Linked DNA regions of Homo sapiens: region 1 is linked to region 2. Evidence: promoter capture Hi-C in 16 types of primary human blood cells and fetal thymus (Javierre and others, 2016). All regions are on one chromosome and are shown on one strand. Each heading gives the region's core, a stretch centred on a gene start or on the middle of the fragment in contact. The rest is flanking DNA. Distances are from core to core; before and after follow the strand shown. Region 1 holds the start of LINC03084 (long intergenic non-protein coding RNA 3084). Region 2 holds the start of ZFPM2 (zinc finger protein, FOG family member 2).

What was found. The method cuts DNA at HindIII sites, captures the fragments that hold promoters and counts their contacts. A CHiCAGO score of 5 or more calls a contact.
Region 1: the fragment with the promoter of LINC03084 here is called in contact with the fragment with the promoter of ZFPM2 in region 2 in 2 of 17 cell types (erythroblasts and megakaryocytes); the score reaches 7.5 in erythroblasts.

What each region holds. Positions count from the first base shown.
Region 1 is chr8:105,187,222-105,191,471 of GRCh38, reverse strand. LINC03084 (long intergenic non-protein coding RNA 3084) reads left to right here and starts at 2,677. Exons shown (of 3, transcript NR_187537.1): 1 at 2,677-2,936. The HindIII fragment of the contact is 4,322 bases long and covers 334-4,250 here.
Region 2 is chr8:105,316,112-105,320,196 of GRCh38, reverse strand. ZFPM2 (zinc finger protein, FOG family member 2) reads right to left here and starts at 1,759. Exons shown (of 8, transcript NM_012082.4): 1 at 1,216-1,759. The coding sequence starts at 1,255. The HindIII fragment of the contact is 6,875 bases long and covers 1-4,085 here.

The DNA of each region.
Region 1 (4,250 bases), core at 1,428-3,927, 130 kb after region 2:
ACCACACACCTACAGTGAGCTCATTTTTAACAAGGTGCCAAGACATACATTGGGGAAAAGACAGTCTCTTCAATAAATGGTGCTGGGAAAACAAAATACCTATATGCACAAGAATGAAACTACACCTCTATCTCTCACTGTATACAAAAATTAAATCAAAATGACTTAAAGACTTAAATATAAAATCTCAAACTATGTAACTACTAAAAAAAAAAAACCTTGGGGAAACTCTTCAGGACATTGTACTGGGCAAAGATTCCTTGAGTAATACTCCACAAGCACAGGCAACCAAAGCAAATGCGGACAAATGGGATCACATCAAGTTAAAAAGCTTCTGCACAGCAAAGGAAACCATCAACAAAGTGAAGAGACAATTTTCAGAATGGGAGAAAATATTTGCAACTATTGATAAGACAATGGATTAATAACCAGAATATATAAGGAACTGAAATAACTCTAAGAAAATATCTAATAATACAATTAAACAATGGTCAAAATATCTGAAAAGACATTTCTCAAATAAAGACATATAAATGGCAAATAGATGTATGAAGAGGTGCTCCGCATCAATGATCATCAGAGAAATGCAAATAAAAACTACAGTGAGATATTGCCTCACCCCAATTAAAATAGCTTGTATCCAAAATATAGTCAATAACAAATGCTGGCAAGGATATGGAGAAAAAGGAACCTTTGTACACTGTTGGTGGAAATGTATATTAGTATGACTACTATGGAGTACAGTTTGGAGGTTTCTCAAAAAACTAAAAATAGAACTACCATAGAATCCAGCAGTCCCACTACTAGGTATATACTCAAAAGAAAGGAAATTAGTATATCAAAGATATAAGATGTATCTGCACTCCCATTTATTGCAGCAGTATTCCAATACCCAAGATTTGGAAGCAATGTAACTGTCTATCAACAGATAAGTGGATAAAGAAAATGTGGTACATATACACAATGAAGTACTATTCAGACGCAAAAAAAAAAAAGACTGTTATTTCTGTCATTTTTAACAACATGGATGGAACTGGATGTCATTATGTTAAGTGAAATAAGCCAGACACAGAAAGACAAACTTTGCCTGTTCTCACTTATTTGTGGAGGCTAAAAATGAAAACAATTGAATTTATGTAGATAGAAAGTAGAAGGATGATTATGAGAGGCTGGGAAGGGTTTTGGGTAGGGGTGAAGCATAAAGGATGATTAACGTGTACAAAAAATAGAATAAATATGATCTAGTATTTGATAAAACAACAGGATGACTACAGTTAGCAATAATCTATTGTACATTTAAAAATAACTAAAAGAGCATAATTGGGTTGTTTGTAACACGAATAAAGTATAAATATTTGAGGTAATGAATATGCCACTTATTCTGATGTGATTACTATGCATTGTATGCCTGTATCAAAATATCTCATGTGCCCCATAAATATATACACATGCTACGTACCCACAAAAATTTAAAAGGAAACAAAACAGAAAAAGACAAATCACAGACTATTTTGAATTGATTTCTGTGTTTGGTGTGAGATAAAGGTCCAATTTCTATCTTTTGCATGTGAATGGCCACCTTTCCCAACACCATTTGCTGAAGGGACTATCCTTTTCCCATAGTGCCATCTTGACATCCTTGTTGAAGGATGTCAACAATGATGACATCTTGACATCCTTGTTGAAGGATGTCATGCTTGTTAATCATATATATGTAGATTTATTTGTGGCCATTCTAATCTGTTACACTGGTCTATATGTCTGTAATGCCAGTCCCATATACAAATTTTTAATCACTATAACTTCGTAATACGTTTTGAAGTCACAAAGTGTGAGGCTTTTTTTTTTTGTTATTTTTTCTCAATTTTACTTTGGTTAGTTCGGCTCTCTTATGGTTCCATATGAGGTTAAGGATGCTTTTTTATTTGTGCAACAAATGCCACTGAGATTTTGATAGGGATTCCATTGAACCTATAGATCTCTTTGGGCAATATGGGCATTTTTACAATCTTGTCTTTTAATCTATGAACATGGGATGTCTTTCCATTTATTTGTGTCTTCTTTAATTTCTTTCAGTAATGTTTTATAGTTTTTCAGTGTAGAAGACTTTCACTTCTTTGGTTAAGTTTATTCCTAAGTATTTTATATTTATTGATGCTATTGTAAGTATTGTAAGTATTGTAAGGATTGTTTTCTTAATTTTCTTTTTGGATATTTCATTGTTAGTGTATAGCCACATAAGTAATTTTTGTGATAATTTTGGATCCTGCAATGTTGCTGAATTTATTAGTTCTAACAGGTTTTTTTTTGTGGAATCTTGAGAATTTTTTGTGTACCCATGTAATCTACTAATAGAGATCATTTTACATCTTCCTTTCTGACTTGAATGCCTTTTATTTCTTTGTCTTGCTTATTTGCTCTAGCTAGGACTTCAAGAACTATGTTAAATAGAAGTGACAAGATTGGGCATTCTTGCCTTGTTCCTGATTTGAGAGGAAAATTTTTCAGTTTTTAACTGTTGAGCAAGATGTTAGCTATGGGCTTGTCATATATGGCTCTGAGATAGCAAGATAAAAACTAGTCCTCTCAGATAGGCTGCCAAAAGCCAGAAATTTGGTTGCTGGTTTTATTTCTTTTCCTCTCCAGGAGGAAGCAAGGAGTTAGAGGTTTTCTTCTACTCTTTATTTACTGAGCCAGAGGAAGCGACCATGGCCAGTGAAGGGTCCAAATTTTTGCCTTTGTTCTCAGCAGCTCTCAACTTGGCACCCCTTCCTGTCAGTGTTCTTCTAGTCAGGACATAAACCAGTCCCTTGGGCAGCTCCTGAAAAAGTCTCAACATTGGACATATGTTTCAGTCTTCTCTTTCCATTCCAAGGGAGAAACTGAGATCTGGGAGTTTTCTCTCAATTGCATTGCACTGAGGAAGAGGGCCTATGGTAAGTGTTTGCCATGAATCTTCCTACTGGCATTGGTGCAGCTGGGTTTGTGTTTGCCTGGGATGCTGGAACCTTTTAGTTGGTTTCTGGATTTCTCACAAAGGGAAATGGTCTGTATTGTTGTTGAATTGCTTTCTCCTTAGAGGAAAGAGAGGCTAGGGCTCCCTATTCAATCATCTTGCTGATGTCCATTTAATTCCTCCAAAGATGTTTGTCTTGTAGCCCACTAAATTCCTATTCTAAGACTGCCAATTATTTTCTGTGTTTACCAAACGCTGTCATTCTAGAGTCTGTTTTCTTTAGCTTCCAGGGTGAATTTCCTCGCTTCTTATATTGCACAATTTGTCTTTCTTAGTTTCTGTTTCTGTTTTCTGATTCATTATCACGAATGATATCATTAAGAACCATCCTCAGAAAAGGAACATGAGAGGTAAATTCAAGATTTGAAAGCCTTAAAATATTTTATTTTGTTTTTACTCCTGATTAGTATCGGGCAGGGTTTAGAATTTTATATTCTGAATTTTGAAGTCTTTTTTTATTGTGTGATATCAACAAATGGTGCTGATAAGTCAAATTATAGATGGAAAATAATTCTAAAGGAAGTTTTAGATTTATCTATTTGTTGTACTGAAATTTCATGTCTCTAGAAGTACTTCTTTTTACATCTATTTTCTTATTTTCCTATGGACCTTCTCTTTAGCTTTGGGGCATCGACATTAAGTTATAGGTTAGTTATGAGTTGATTACTCGTGACTGTATGAAAAATAAAATTTTAAGCAGAATATGCTTTCTAAAATATTTGTCTATAATCTGCCAAACATCCTTTTTGTTATTCAATATTGGTAATCCAGAATAGATTCATATATGTTCTATCACGTATAAGCAAACATAAACTAAATACAAGAAATACTCTTGGAAATAAATAAAATAACCTAAGTGTCCTTTGATAAAATAATTCAAGATTAAATCGTTGTAGTCTATTATTCAATAATACTAAATTTACCATTCAGAAAAGGGAACAAAATTGCTCAGAAAAAAATTGAGCTCTTTGCCATCCTTATACGCAAAGAAGAGGTTTATGGTTCTTTAGTCCTCGTAAGAAACATATGAAATTGTATTTTTAATTTCCTAACAGGGAGCCATTGGTTAACTTATTTTTAGCTTGCAATTAGTAGAAGAAAATATCTCATATAGCAAATATTACAGTGTAATCTGATTTTACCTCTTGCAGAGTTTAGTAAACAAATAAACCCCACAACAATGACAACACAACATAAAAAAGTTTGGCTTTAAGCAAAAATACATCTATATTAT
Region 2 (4,085 bases), core at 510-3,009:
GTTGATTGATAAGATTTATTTTTAAACTACACCAAATAGAATTTTCAACATTTGGGGGTGGGGCGAGTATGGTTAATAATCAGGGGGGAAAGGGATACTACTAAAGTCTTATCCTTAAATTACATCATAATTTGTTTAAAACTAATTGCAGACTCTGAGCAACACGGTGAAACAGACACATCATAAAGCTAGCAAAAAATAAACTAATAAGGTTTTTTCTTCTTTTCGGCCAAAGCGTTGAAGATATGTCGCAGGCCTATAAAACGCTATTGGAGGAATTCTCCCCAAGCCAAGAAAAGTTGACCGACTTGATCTCTGCGAGCGTGCCTGTTTCGGAAGGTGTCTCTTGACCCGCCGTGTCCTCTAAGCACCATCGGGACCCCCGGGCACCCGGGGGCTCAGGGCCATGCACTCCCCTGCGCGCCCACCGCCTTGAACTCACAGCTTCCGCGCTGGGAAGTGACTGGCGGCCCCTCCCAGGGAGGACTCCGCGCGCCACCAGGGCCAGACACCACCCGAATCCCCGCTCGGCTGAGCGTCCTGGCGGCGTGAGCCGGACCCGCCCGAAGTCCCAGGACACGACCTGCCAGCCACCAGCCCGCGCCCGCAGGGCAGAGACGCACGGCCGCCCGCCGCAGAGGCGCGAACTTTTACACCTACTTTTTGTTTCGCTTCGGGTTTGGTGTGGCTCTGGCACCGCCCAGGATCGGGACCCTGACGCTCTGATTTTCCACCGCGTGGGGAAGTTACCTCCCTCGCCCCGAGGTCTCGACCGCCCAGCTTTTCTGAGAAGTTTCTACCCTGGTTACTAAAAGTGGTTCCCAAGAGTAGTCCCACGTCAATCGCACAAAGCAATGACAACAACAATAATAAGCGTCTAAAGGAGCGGGACTGCCCCTCCGGCTGGACGACAGCGCCGGGGACTCGCAGCGTGCGCGGGTCGGAATTAAAAAAGCAGCCCGGGAGCGCGAGGGCTGAGCGGGGCAAGCATGGGCTGCTCCTCGCAGCCTCTCTCCTGCCCGAGGCTCGGGCTGGCCGTCTGTCTGTCTATGACTGTCTAGTTGTCCCTTCGACTGCTCAGGCAAAGTTTGAGACATCTAGGGGACCGGGAGCGGATCTCCCCTAGCCCCGCCACCCACCCACCGCTTTCCCGTCCCGCGCACCCCGCTCCTGGGCAATAATCCCACCAACTCCCGGCCCCGCGCGCAAACTTACGTTTGATCTGCCGGGGTTTGCTTTGCTTTCGCCGGGACATCTCGGCGGCGGCTGCTGCCGCTGGGGCTCCCGCGGTGCCCGCGGTCGCGGCTGCCGCTCCCTCGGCTCCCGCCGCCGCCGCCGCCGCCGCCGCCGCTGGCCAGGCTCGGCCCGCCGCCGGCCGGACTCCAGGTGCTCCGGGCGCTGGGCTCCTCCGGGAGCCGCGGATTCACGTTCGGAGATGAGCAAGCAAATGAGAGAAGAGAGACGGGGGCACAGAGAGTGTGACAGTGAGGAGGGGAGGGGGAGAGGAGAGCGACGGGGGGAGAATGGGAATGTACAAGCGAACGGTCAGGGAGAGAGAAAAGGGGAAAGAGAAGAGAAAAATAACACGGAAAGAAGGAAGAGAAGGAGGGAGGGACGGGAGAGCGAGCAGCGAGGAGAGGGGGAGCGCGGGGGCGCAGGGCGCGGGAGGAGGAGCGCGCTCGCTCGCCCCTCGCCCCGGCGTGCGGGACGGATACTCCGGCGCCGCCGCCGCCGCTCCGGGCCGCGCAGCTCCTGTTCTGCGGCGGGAGGCGGCGAGGCGCGCGAGGGAGGGGCGCGCCGGGGCTGTGGGGAGGGGAGACTATTCCATCAGCCAAAGGAGGATTGGCTGCATCCAAATCCAGTCCGGATGCAAACTACGGCCCCGGCCTTGGTCGGGCGAAGTGCGGGGGATCCAGGCGGTGGTGGGGGATGGGGGCAGGGGTGGGTGGGAGTTGGAGGGGAGGCGTGGGGACGGCTTGGAGGAGGGCCACCTTCTGCAGTTGTCACCGCGTCAACGCTGGGCAGCTGCCAGGGCACCCCGCCCCACCTCCTTCCAGGCAACTTCTTCCAACGGCCCTCTCTGAGGGACCCCAACTCTCCTCTCTCACGCCTCGCCAGTCCAGCGGGGCACAAAGAAATCTCAGTCTCTCCCTAAACTTTGTGCTTTCAGTTATGCCGCCCCCTCCCCTCACCCCCAACCCCCGCCCTCCCAGCTTCTTGGCAGGAAGGTTAGGCCACTGGCAAAGTCCTCGGCGAGAGCCAGATGATCACAAATGCCAACTGTGTGTCTTGGGGCCAGTTAAGTCCGCTCATCTGCCCAGGCTCTCAGAAGACCATTTCTTTGCTCTCAAGGCTCCCAGGAGACCGCTGCGGACACGGACCGTCCCGCTCTGGGCCCACGTGGATGAGGTGCTGAGTCGGATCCTCAACGTGTTCTGTCACCCACAGTTTCCATTTTAAATTGTAAAATATTCAAATTTGGAGACAAGCAGATATTTTTCTCATCTTGAAAAGGAGGAGCGAGCGTTAGCTAGCTGATTAGCCGTAAGTGGAAAACGAACCATCTCTAATAAAAATACTAACTTTTTGGGAAAGTCTGGGGAAGTTCTGTAGTCCCACCCTGCCCCGTGACCTTTCTATTCTCTTAGTCTTCTGCCACAGGGAAGCACCGATCGACTAATAAAAGATTTGATCTTGCTGTAATTTCCCAAGCGGGTAAGACCCAGTAACTATTTAATGGTTCTTTAGCTTCTAAAATTTTGTTTTATTCTTATTCAATTACTGTATGTGTAGTATATCGGCAACTGCAAGCCAAAAGGAGAACAAATTTTGAGGTGATTTGCATAGTTATTATTTTGGCCAAGTTAAACTGTATGAGGTTAGCTTATTTTCTTACAGTTTCATATACGGTAAGTATTAAATATATTCTCCCATGTGGGTTGGAAGGAGCTTCTATCCAAGTGCAGTGGGACTAGCTGCTTTATGTAATCAGTATTTACTAATAAACTCCACTGCAGTTCACATGAGTCCCCCAGATACTGCTGACTTTTCCCCCAGGAGGTTGTGAAGTGGACCATTCTGATCTCAAATTGTGTCCCCGTTTGCTTGGTTGACTATTATTTGTGTGAACCACACCAAACTGGATACTCTAAAAGGGTCTGGGGTCAGCACAGAGCCTGGGCTGATTGAGCATAATGCAAGATGCTCAGTGTGTAAGAGGCACTGTAATCAGTGTCATTTATAACCCCAACAGGACATCTTCTGGAAGGTGTAAAGAGTTGCCTTGTGAAAGGTATGGCCAAGAGAATCTTAATACAAAGCTGAAGACAAATTGTGAATTTTATTACATTACCATTAGTACTATTACCATAGGAGGCTGTAAGAATACATAGTCCTCTGCAGTGGAAAATGCACTAAATGACAAAGTCCCTCCTGTGAAGAACCAACAAATTAAGGCTGAAAGTACCATGAAAAGCAGGGCCATTTATGTTTGTGTTGTGGAATAAATAAGCAGAGAGAGAACTGCAGATTTTTACCTCCTTCATTTTCAATTCATTACAGTTAAATTGGTGTGCTTAGAATCAGATGTATTGTACATTATGGTTTTTAAAGATCTTTTTACAGAACTGGCTGAATTTTTATGTCACCCAAAAGGAATGCCCATTGGAATTAAAATATCGTAACTGTTTCTTTTGGAGTTTGAAGTGGTTAAATATGCAATGCAAAAGAAAAACAAATAAATCTCAGCTAAATGTTTAGTTTAAAAGCTAAAAGGAGCAGAAGTCAGAGAATTCAAGGCAAGATTGATAACCAGAATGCATTATTAGAGATAGATATTAGTTTATCTAAATTTATAAATATATATTAATATAGTCAATATGAATGAATTAAAATAATGAATACTATTACATTTTATATTTTTTCATTATTTTTAATGAGAATATTAATGATATTTAAGGTTCAGTTTTTCTTTTTTTCTAGTTTAATTCACTGAGGTTATAAAATAAATAGACGGAAAAACCTATAAGCAATTATCTCTGTCCAAATGGATATAGCAGCCCCAAACCACAGCTACATGACTATCA